Linked DNA regions of Homo sapiens: all the other regions are linked to region 2. Evidence: promoter capture Hi-C in human tissues and cell types (Jung and others, 2019). All regions are on one chromosome and are shown on one strand. The core of a region is centred on a gene start or on the middle of the fragment in contact, and the rest is flanking DNA. Distances in the headings are between cores, read along the strand shown.

What was found. Contacts are between HindIII fragments. The study calls those that stand out against the background at their distance.
Region 1: a fragment that was not itself captured here is called in contact with the fragment with the promoter of COX7B2 in region 2 in 2 of the 25 tissues and cell types used here (aorta and spleen).
Region 3: a contact is called between a fragment that was not itself captured here and the fragment with the promoter of COX7B2 in region 2, in 1 of the 25 tissues and cell types used here (stomach).

The regions. Positions count from the first base shown.
Region 1 is chr4:46,862,589-46,866,363 of GRCh38, reverse strand. The region is part of intron 1 of COX7B2 (cytochrome c oxidase subunit 7B2); the gene reads left to right. Among named protein-coding and RNA genes, the nearest start is that of COX7B2, 45 kb to the left of the region's middle. The HindIII fragment of the contact is 4,587 bases long and covers 1-3,775 here.
Region 2 is chr4:46,907,584-46,911,643 of GRCh38, reverse strand. COX7B2 (cytochrome c oxidase subunit 7B2) reads left to right here and starts at 2,399. Exons shown (of 3, transcript NM_130902.3): 1 at 2,399-2,484. The HindIII fragment of the contact is 11,120 bases long and covers 1-4,060 here.
Region 3 is chr4:46,961,208-46,964,987 of GRCh38, reverse strand. GABRA4 (gamma-aminobutyric acid type A receptor subunit alpha4) reads left to right here. Exons shown (of 9, transcript NM_000809.4): 8 at 1-18. Among named protein-coding and RNA genes, the nearest start is that of GABRA4, 30 kb to the left of the region's middle. The HindIII fragment of the contact is 8,926 bases long and covers 1-3,780 here.

The DNA of each region.
Region 1 (3,775 bases), core at 481-2,980, 45 kb after region 2:
GACAAAAGTGAGCCCAGTTAGGGCACAAATAGAGGCCATATGTGGTGTAACATCTGTTCTCTGCTGCCAAGGTGGATCTATAGAGGTATTTTCCCCAAATTCCAATGGCAGTGGTCAGACAGCTCCTATTTTCCAGAAGGGGGGATACTTCCGTCTTCCTAAATCAGGCAGTTGCTTTTTCTTTGCATGTATTGGCCTTGGACATGGCATCATGTACGGCTTCCTTACTTAGAAGTTGGATCCCATTTATTTTAGTGCAGCCTTGGGACTTGGAAACTAGGGTTGGAACAGAGCATTGTGGGGAAACTTCCACTCTTGTGTCATTAACACAGCAATGGATGCAAAAGATAGTGTCATTAGATCACTGGAGGTACTAGTACCCAATCTCCCAGGTCCAGATAACAGTGGTGGAGGAAGTTAGGTAGAATCTGTTAAGTGGGGGAGAATTCCACCTAACAAGTAGGGTTCTGTGTACTAAGGGATCATGGTGGTTAATTACGAGGTCCAGAGACATGGTCGTGAGATTTTCCAGATGTGCCAGGACGTGGAACTCTCTATCCTGGGGATGTTGATGACAGAGTCGGCAACCAAGAAGATGATTCCTTGATGCTATACTTTTTTGAAATATTTACTATAGAGTTTTCTCCCACCCACACTGAATTAGGTTAACTGGGGGAGCAAACAGGATTATCAGAGGCAGCATGATGTCTGGGTGGACCTTAGAGTGGCCTCTACACCCAACAAGGACAAAAGATGTGTTTCCTAGGAGGAAGCAGTTGTTCAAAGCGGTAGAGAAAGAGTATTATGATCAAGAAGAAGAGAAAAATTGATACTCCTATTCTTACCACAGCACCACATCTCTGTACCAAATTGAGCGTTGGTCCTTTTACAAAGGTAATGGACCAAAGGAGAAGAGGTTGTTATATGAAAAAGATACTTGCACATATATGCTTATCACAACACAATACACAGTTACAAAGATGTGGAACCAACCTAAGTGCCACCAACTAATGAGTGGCTAAAGAAAATATGGTACATACACAACCATGGACTACTTACTACTCAGCCATTAAAAGGAACAAAATAATGTCTTCTACAGCATGTTGGATGGAGCTGAAGGCCATTATTCTAAGTGAAGTAACACAGGAGTGGAAAACCAAAAAATATATGTTCTCACTGATAAGTGAGAGCTAAACTATGAGTACCCAAAGACATACAGAGTGGTATTAATATAATACTCAGAAGGGGGAGAGTAGAAGAGGTGCTAGAGATTAAAAAACTACACAGGCATACTGTATACTACTCAGGTGATGGGTGCCCTAAAATCTCAGAATTCACTGCTATTTAATTCATCCATGTAACAAAAAACACATGTATCCCCAAAGCTATTGAAATAATCATAATAATAATCATAATAAAAGCCCAGGTGCGGTGCCTTACGCCTGTAACCCCAGCACTTTGGGAGGCTGAGGCGGGCTGATCACGAGGTCAGGAGATGGAGACCATCCTGGCTAACACGGTGAAAAACCGTCTCTATTAAAAATACAAAAAATTAGCCGGGCGTGGTGGCCGGCGCCTGTAGTCCCAGCTACTCAGGAGGCTGAGGCAGGAGAATGGCGTGAACCCGGGAGGTGGAGCTTGCAGTGAGCCTAGATCGCGCCACTGCACTCCAGCCTGGGCGAGACTCCGTCTAAACAAACAAACAAACAAACAAACAAAAAACAACTCTGACCAACAACTCTAGGAATGGGCTGACTGGCCTGATAAGAATAGGCTGATGGTGCCTGCAGAAGACCACAAAACATTGACCAAGAACGCAATGATTAACTGCCCACCTGAGACAGCACACGATCATTTCACAAAAAAATATTTTGATGATTTCTCTTAACTTCTCTTAAAAACTCCTGATCCAGAGGCACAACTTGGAGAGGTGGTTTTTGAATGCTACTTCACTGCCTCCCTTCAGTTGTTGGCTTCTCCAATAAAGCTAACTTCCCTTTAGTTAAAAAAAAAAATGTCGTGGGTGGCCTTCAGAGACTCACAAGTGTAGGTAACATTGTTTGTATCTGAAACCTGGGGGGCTCATAAGAAACAGGTTTAATCCTGGATAGGTGTACTCAGCTGGTGATCCCCTGAAGCTTAATGGCAGTGGGGATACTTAACAACACCTGATAGGGGCCCTTCCATTTTGGTTGAAATTCATCCTTGGGGGATCCTTCTTTCCAAATTTTCAGTAAGACTAAGTCTCTTGGTTGAATGGGGGAGTTAATTATTTCCCTTGTTGGAAAGGGCAGTGCTTTATTTCCATATTCTTGAAGGGCCTTTTGAACGTGACCTAAATTCCAAATAGCGGGCATAGTGAGGCATGTCCGGCCCCTGTTTCCCATCATGACCTGAATTAGTTTTTCAGATTTCGATAGCCAATTAAACATTTTAGTCCAGGTGAGAATGGAGGTTGCTCAACACTCATTAGCCCTTAAAACTTTTTTTAAGCAATCTAAGAATTAAAAAACAAAGGTCAAATATAAAGTTTCAAGAACAGCAAAGAGTATAAAATCAAGTTATCCTGGAGGAAAACATTGCTTTTATAGACCTCTAAGATAAAATATTTCAGCATCAGTCAATATGAAGAGTTAAAACCAGAGGAGAAAAGGTCACAGGAGCTATGAAAAAGCTGGAGCATTATCGTATTAGGCCTTCTCAAAGGGAGAAAGAATTGAAAGCAGCAAGGCACAACAATAGTTGAATATGAGATATGAATCTGAGAAGTTTTAAAAGGAACAGGTTATGGAATTAAAATAAAAATTTCTTGTAATTTTATTAAGAGCAAATCAATATCTTAAGAAGATCTTGCTTTAACATGGGCGACTATTCTCTAGAAAGACAATTATAAACAATTCCCTTCTAATGACAGCCACTTAATTACACACAAAATTCCTTCATGAATTTTCTTTTACAAACTTTATCATGACTTACACAGACTATCACATGCTTGTACTTTCCGACTTGTCCTGTACTATCTCTTTCTTAAATAACCAGTTGTTCTCTAGGACAAGAATTCAGCATACAAGACCCTGTCTTGTATAAAATTAGTCTTTTTGTTAATATCCTTCCTTACCAAAAATACATATGTATATCTATAACTTTATTTACATTTCTCCCTCCTTATCAGTTCCTTTCTATCTCATTTCATAAATAACCTTTTCAAGTTGATAATTTGAATTAACCTTTACATAGCTTTTGAATTAGACAAAGTTATTCTTTTTCTCGATAAAAAGGCATATTCTTTGGCACATATTATATAAACCTACGAAGCAAGAAATCCTGAACTCTTTACCAGATGTTAGCATTTTAAAGATGAGAACAATTTCATAATTTTTAGAAACTTATCTTCCCATATATTATAATAACTCTTTCTTAATTGGAAATGACCCATACGTCCAGTAAACATCCAAAATAATTTTAAGATTTTAAGCTATACAAAAAGTTCACTTACAAGCATTTATCTCATTACACTTACCTAATTTATTTCTTTTTAATAGTTTAGCAAGATTACTTATAAAAGTTGTGCTACTAGGCAAATCTAGTCATCATTCAAAGTTACTTCCTGATTAAACATTTTTAAAGTCTGAACATTAGGTGAACACCTAATAAGAATCTTACAGTTGAATACATGAACATTTTGCTGATAACCCCAAAGATTCAGGTGTTTTTATTGAACCAACAATCTTAAATTAGTCTTATTTATCAAAATTTGAAAATTCGGAAGACATTT
Region 2 (4,060 bases), core at 1,150-3,649:
GAATATGAACTTGAATTGGGAAGAACACAAGGTCCTAGGAGAAAATAAATATTCATAGTAAATTGAGAAACCTATGGGATAATTATATTCTTGGAATGGGCTGTGTTATGCACACAATTAATTAATGCATCTAAACTGCAATTGAAATATAAGCTGTAATTGTTAAAATTCACAAATAGAGTTATATGTAATAATTAGATGATCAATTTTTTTTGTGATAAAACTGGAATTGAGTAAAACAAACAAAAAAGTAGACTTAAACATAATAGCACGTTTCGTTTCTTTGTTGCTTCCAAACAGGACTTTAAAAATATTTGATCCTTAAAAAAAAATCTTTGTAAATAAACTTAAATTATCTACAAAAATAGTAAACTTTTAATGACAGAAAAAATTTGTTGAATTGTGTTAAAATCATTTGAAAATTTTCAAAGAATTCAATTGTTTTGCCAATAAAATACGGGTTTTGAAAATGTAGCAGACTGTAGTTATTAAAAACAAAGCCCATGACACAGGAAAATATTTAAAATACTCATTCAAAACCAAGGGATAATATGAACAAATTTAATTGGATCTTAAATCTTATATAATATTTAACTTTCACATTCTATAATTGTGCTTTGGAATATTTTAAATTTATATAATTTTTTTCATGGGATTTCTACTATAAGTAGTATAAATTCACATTTTTAGAGACATAAAATTTAAAAGGCTTTCCAATTTGCAGGATCTAAATTTGTTAAACCTTCAAAAGAGGCCGGGCGCCGTGGCTCATGCCTGTAATCCCAGCACTTTGGGAGGCCGAGGTGGGCGGATCACGAGGTCAGGAGTTCGAGACCAGTCTGGCCAACATAGTGAAACCCTGTCTTTATTAAAAATACACAAAAAATTAGCTGGGTGTGGTGGTGTGCACCTGTAATCCCATCTACTCAGGAGGCTGAGGCAGGAGAATCGCGTGAACCCGGGAAGGCAGAGGTTGCAGTGAGCCAAGAGGGTGCCACTGCACTCCAGCCTGGGAGACAGAACAAGACTCCATCAAAAACAAAAAAACAAAAAAACCTCAAAAGAATATAAATAACAACAAAATTAATGAAATTTGTCTCATACAAATATGTGCTGAAGATAGGTTACCTTACAGGCCAGAAGAAGGTACTTGCGAAAATATTTGGACTGAAAAAATTACATATTTCAAAATGAAAAAAATAGAAAGGGTATTTTCTGTTTAGCAGAATTTCTATGAGCTTATTTTCTCAATTTAAAATACTATAATACATGGTGAACAGTTAAGTGAAGATGTCAACAATTTGACATATATCACCCATAAAGTACATGTTTTAGAAGAGTATAGGCGATTTAAAAAGTTGACAAGTAATAATACCATATTAAAATATATTCTTTAGAAAATATCAGTGACCCAGTCTTATAGACCAAAACACTAATTAAAATACATCAGCATACAGCAAGAATGATCATTTTATTATACATATATATATTTTGAGATGGAGTTTCACTCTTGTTGCCCAGCTGGAGTGCAACGGCTCGATCTCGGCTCACTGCAACCTCCGCCACTGTGATTCAAGCCATTGTCCTGCCTCAGCCTCCAGAAGTAGTTGGGATTACAGGCATCCGACCCCACGCCCAGCTAATTTTTGTATTTTTAGTAGAGACAGGGTTTCACCACGTTGGCCAGGCTGATCTCAAACTGCTGACCTCAGGTGATCCACCTGCCTTGGCCTCCCAAAGTGCCATTTTATTATGTTCATATTATCAATACAGACTTTACAAAAAGTTTTAGCTTTAATATGTAATTATATCATTTTAATTTTTAGAACTAATTTCCTTTCCAAAATGAATTTTGAATTGCACTTTATTGGCCCACCAATATAAAGTCTCAAAATCTCAAAAAATAAGAAAACGTATAATTTTAATTAATTACATTGCCCTCTTTCACTCTCAAGGGTCTCAGTTTGGGCAAAATATTATGTGGTCATCATAATTAGCATCCTAGTATGCTTAGGAGAGATCAGATGGGCTACACGGGATTTATGACTTGCTTTGGGTTACAGGCAATCTCAAACTTTCCTAATCACCAAGTGGGATAAAGAAGTAACACGGAGCCAGGGGGCTTGCCAAGAGATAGCTGCGACATGGAAGGAAAAGATCCCAACAGGTGTCACTAGGAATTATGTTGGTAGGTAGGAACACCCATCTCAATTCTTTTGTTTGATTCATTACAGAGGGACTTATATTAGAAGAACTCTCCTAATGGCTGTCTTTTTAGTTCCTCCCGTGGAGATAGCAATCATCTATCTGATTGGTCAGTTTGGAACGCGCAGTCCTTCATGTGACCGCCTCTTCCTTTCACCTAAGGCGGAAACTGCTCACAGGAAGTACCTGTTTTACCCGACCCCTCCAGGCTGTAAAACGGAAAGGTTCGGAATTTGCCTCTGCGCCGTCTTTTTTTGCCTGTTACCTGTGACGTCCTTGGTAAGTTTGTCTCATTCTGGGGTTCGTTGTCAGTAAGCTGACAGTTATAAGACATGGTCTTCATTCATTGCTCTAACAGTTATCAGGAAATATTTTGAAATTTTTTTTTTTTTTTGAGACGGAGTCTCACTCTGTCACCCCAGGCTGGAGTGCAGTGACGCCATCTCGGCTCACTGCAAGCTCCGCCTCCCGGGTTCACGCCATTCTCCTGCCTCAGCCTCCCGAGTAGCTGGGACTACAGGGGCCCGCCACCACGCCTGGCTAATTTTTTTTTGTATTTTTAGTAGAGACGGGGTTTCACCATGTTAGCCAGGATGGTCTCGATCTCCTGACCTCGTGATCCACCCGCCTCGGCCTCCCAAAGTGTTGGGATTACAGGCGTGAGCCACTGCGCCCGGCCAGATTTTTTTTTTTTTTTTTTGCCACTTTCCTTTTTTGTTTCATTTCTCCCAGAGGGAATGGAAAGACGTTATATTTTGGACCTTCCTCTCACTCTGACATCTAGGACATAGGATGGGAGTAAAAGGAAAATTAAAAGGAAAGGAATTGCATGTTGCAGAGCGATTTGTGTAGTTGTATCTTCTGGCATGGCTAAAGTGGGAAGTGTTGCACTCTGGCAGAACTGGTCTAGGTACCGATCATATATGTTCAGCTGTAGTGGCAATTTTGCCCACAGGAGAGTAGCTGTTTGTATATAAGCAGGTTTGCATACCTTGGGCTGTGAGCAAAAGCCAATAAGCTTTGAGGGACTCAGCAAACAAAATCTGACCAGGAGTGTTGAGGCATCCCTATTAAACGGGTGTTGGTCACGTGATTATTGCTGCTTGGCTTTGAAATCTGTAGAGGCAGTTTTTTCTAAGTAGCCTTGACTGAGAGAAGGGTATGATTATAGTCTTTTTGTGTACGAGCCTTACAGATCTCAAAGTGGTTCTAGGATGGCCAGTGGTATTTGCAGGAAATGTTTAGTGCCAGGCCTACATAGGGGGCATAGATAGTCTGCTCAAATTCTGGCTGGGTGCAGTGGCTGACACCTGTAATCCCAGCAGTTTGGGAGGCCGAGGCGGGAGGATCACGAGATCAAGAGATCGAGACCATCCTGGCCAACAGGGTGAAACGCATCTCTACTAAAAATACAAAAATTAGCCAGGCGTGGTCGCACGCGCCTGTAGTCCCAGCTACTAGGGAGGCTGAGCCGGGAGAATCGCTTGAACCCGGGAGGCGGAGGTTGCAGTGAGCTGAGATCGTCTCATTTCACTCCAGCCTGGAAACAGAGAGAGACTCCGTCTCAAAAAAAAAAAAAAAAAAAAAAAAGTCTGCTCAAATTCTGATCTTTTATATTGTTTTGACTCCTCTTCAGAGACAAGAGATGGAAGTTTGGTGTGACAAGTCTTGGAGTTATCTGACTTGGCCATCGATTTAATAGTTGTTCCTATTTTTTTTTTTATCTCACAGTGGCTTTGAATTTAACAATTCTGTGTACTCTGGTCATAACTTTTGATCTTTGAGATTCACACTGTGACTCCACCCATAGGAGGTGCATATGGATATCAAATTACGGAGTTGGATATTAAATTAA
Region 3 (3,780 bases), core at 1,182-3,681, 53 kb before region 2:
CCTGAAGCCCCTCTGCAGGTATTTGACTTAATCCACCTTCAGTTTAAGATTTTAGCTTCTTGGTCAAATTTATTTTGTCAGGGAAACAAACTGAGAACTTAAAAATCCTGATATCAACTTGTAAGTCATTTAAAAATACAGAAAAACATAAAAGTAACTGTATGAGCTTAAACTTTATGTTGGTGATTAACAGCTTAAAAATTAAACAGCTGTGACAGAGCTAGATGTAGGCGAAGCTAATTGTTTGAAAGTTTCTTTCGGAGTTACAGGTTTTTTTTACAGAAAGGGGCAAAATCCCATGTATACTATTAGGAGGAACCTGTGGACATCTTTAAGTGAGTTGAAAAAACATTTTAATAGAGTTCATTGTGCAAAGCAAAGCAGCAGTTAGTTTTTGTTTGTGTCTTTAAAAATTGCTTATGTTTAATTTTTGTGACTACATAATAGATGCATATATTTATGAAGTACATGAGATGCTTTGATACAGGCATGCAATGTGAAATAAGCACATCATGGAAAATGGGGTAGCCATTTCTTCAAGTATTTATTATTTGAGTTACAAACAGTCCAAGTACATTCTTTAAGTTATTTCAAAATGTAAAATTAAGTTATTATTGGCTATAGTTGCTCTGTTGTGCTATCAAATAGTAGGTCTTATTCATTCTATTACTTTGTACCCATTAATCATCCCCATCTTCCCTCCACCAAACTCCCGCTACCCTTCCCAGTCTCTGGTAACCATCATTTTACCCTCTATGTTCATGAGTTCAATTGTTTTGATTTTTAGATCCCACAAATAAGTGAGAACATGCAAGGTTTATCTTTCTGTGCCTGGATTATGTCACTTAACTTGATGATCTCCATTTCCATCCATGTTGTAGCAAATGACTGGATCTCATTCTTTTTTATGGCTGAATAGTCATTCACTGTATATATGTACCACATTTTCTCTAATCATTTATCAGTTTATAGACACTTAGGTTGCTTCCAAATCTTAGCTATTGTAGACAGATCTGAAACAAACATAGGAGTGCAGATATCTCTCTGATATACTGATTTCCTTTCTTTTGGGTATACACCCAGTAGTGGAATTGCTGAATCATATGGTAGCTTTATTTTTAGTTTTTTGAGGACTCTCCAACTGTTCTCCATAGTGGTTGTACTAATTTATCTCCAGTGTTTGCTATTGCCTGCCTTTTGGATATAAGCTATTTTACCTGGGGTGAGATGATGCGTCATTGTAGTTTTGATTTGCATTTCTCTGATGATCAGTGATGTTGAGCACCTTTACCTATATCTGTTTACAATTTCCATGTCTTCTTTTGAGAAATGTCTGCTGTATTAGTCCATTTTCACACTGCTGATCATGACATACCTGAAACTGGGAACAAAAAGAGGTTTACTTGGACTTACAGTCTCATATGGCTGGGGAGGCCTCAGAATCATGGTGGGAGGTGGAAGGCACTTCTTACATGGTGATGGTAAGAGAAAAATGAGGAAGAAGCAAAAGCAGAAACCCCTGATAAGCCCATCAGATCTGGTGAGACTTATGCACTATCACAAGAATAGCACAGGAAAGACTGTCCCCCATGATTCAATTACTTCCCCCTGGGTCCCTCCTACAACAAGTGGGAATTCTGGGGGATAAAATTCAAGTTGAGATTTGGCTGAGAACACAGCCAGATCTTATTATCTATTCAAATTTTTGCCCATTTTTGATTGGATTATCAGATTTTTTCCTATTCAGTTGTTTGACCTCTTTATATATTCTGATTCTTAATCCTTTGTCAGATGAATAGTTTGCAGATATTTTCTCCCAATCTATGAGTTGTCACTTCACTTTGTTGATTGTATACTTGGCTGTGCAGAAGCTTTTTAACTTGATGTGATCCCTTCTGTCCATTGTGGTTTTGGTTGCCATGCTTCTAAGGTATTACTCAAGAAATTTTTGCCCAGACCAATGTCCAAGAGATTTCCCTCAATGTTTTCTTGTAATAGCTCAATGGTTTGAGGTGGTCTTAATTCATTTTGATTTGATTCTTGTATATGGCAGAGATAGGGGTCTATTTTCATTCTTCTGCGTATGAATAATACAGTTTTCCCAGCACCATTTATTGAAGGGACCGTCTTTTTCCAGCTGTATATTCTTGGCACCTGTGTTGAAAATGGGTTTGCTTAGGTGTGTGGATTTGTTTCTGGGTTCTCTATTCTGTTTCATTGATCTATGTGTCTGTTTTTATGCCAGTACCATGTTGTTTTGATTATTACAGATTTGTAGTATAATTTGAAATGAGGTAATGTGATTCCTCCAGTTTCATTCTTTGTGCTTAGGATATCTTTGGCTATTCTGGGTCTTTTGTGGTTCCATATACATTTTAGGATTGTTTTTGCTATTTCTGTGAAGAATATCTTTGGTATTTTGATAGTGATTGCACTGAACCTGTAGATTGCTTTTGGTGGTATGGAAATTTTATTAATATTGATTCTTCCAATCCATGAACATAAAATCTTTTTCCATTTTTTGGTGTCCTGTTCAATTTATTTCATCAGTGTTTTCTAATTTTCATTATAGATATCTTTCATTTCTTTGGTAAAGTTAATTCCTAGGTATTTAATTTTATATGTGGCTATTGTAAATAGGATTACTTTTTTGTTCCTTTTTCAGATTGTTAACTATTGACATACAAAAATGCTACTGATTTTTGTATATTAATTTTGTATCCTGCAACTTTACTGAATTTGCTTATCCGTTCTAATAGTTTTCTTGTGGAGTCTTTAAAGCAGCAGCTCTTAACATGGCCACACATTAGAACTACCCCATGGGGCAGGGTGGGGCCTGTGCCTGTGTATTAAAGAAGAAAACAAAACCAATAAGCAAGAAGTTAGATAGTTGTAGTAAATGTACAGTCAAAATTAGGAATTCTCGACCTGAAGGGATAGATCTAAGACAATGTGGAAAGCCCAATAAAAGCTATTGTATTTTACATTTGACACATCAGTGAGTCTGTGATTTAAAACAAACAAACAATTAAAAAGTATCTTTTTCTTCATGGAGTCCAACTGTACAAAAATAGTCAGATCCTCATAAAAACATAGAAGCAAACAAGCAGCGCCCCTCTCACTCTCTTTCCTCTTCTTCCTCTTCTTCTTCCTCCACTACTCACCTATCTCCTTCTCTCTCTTTCTCTCTCACTATCACTCTACTCAGCTTCTTTTTTGAACCAGCAGACAAATGCCTGTGGTCACTTAAATACAGTCTATGGTATTTGCCACATATGGTAGTCTAAGACTCCCTTTGTTTGCATATACCCAAATCAACACGTATATAAATCATCAACTTTATTTCTCTATAGATAACAGATCGGTCCCTTATTCATTCATTAATTGATTTATTCACTCATTCAACAAATATACATTTGTGCCAACTTTGTGCCCGATTTCCTGTTTAGAATCTGTGAGCCGATAGTGTACCAAAAAACAAATATCCTGCCAGGTGGAGCTTACATTTACTTGTGTGGGGCAAGGGAGAGGAGGCAGACAATACTGAAAAACATAAATAACAAAACAGGTGATGTGTTAGATAGTGATAGGGCTATGATAATAGTAAAGCACTAAAGGGGACAGGAAGTGCGGGAGGAGGATGAGGAGGATGGGATTCTGTTCTCAGAGAGATGCCAGCTGAAGAAATTAGGTTAGGCATTCACCCTGGCAGGGATTAACTGGTCAGGGTCCTGCAATTTATAGCTCTGCTCCTACAGGGCACTGGGCCCTTTAAGAATG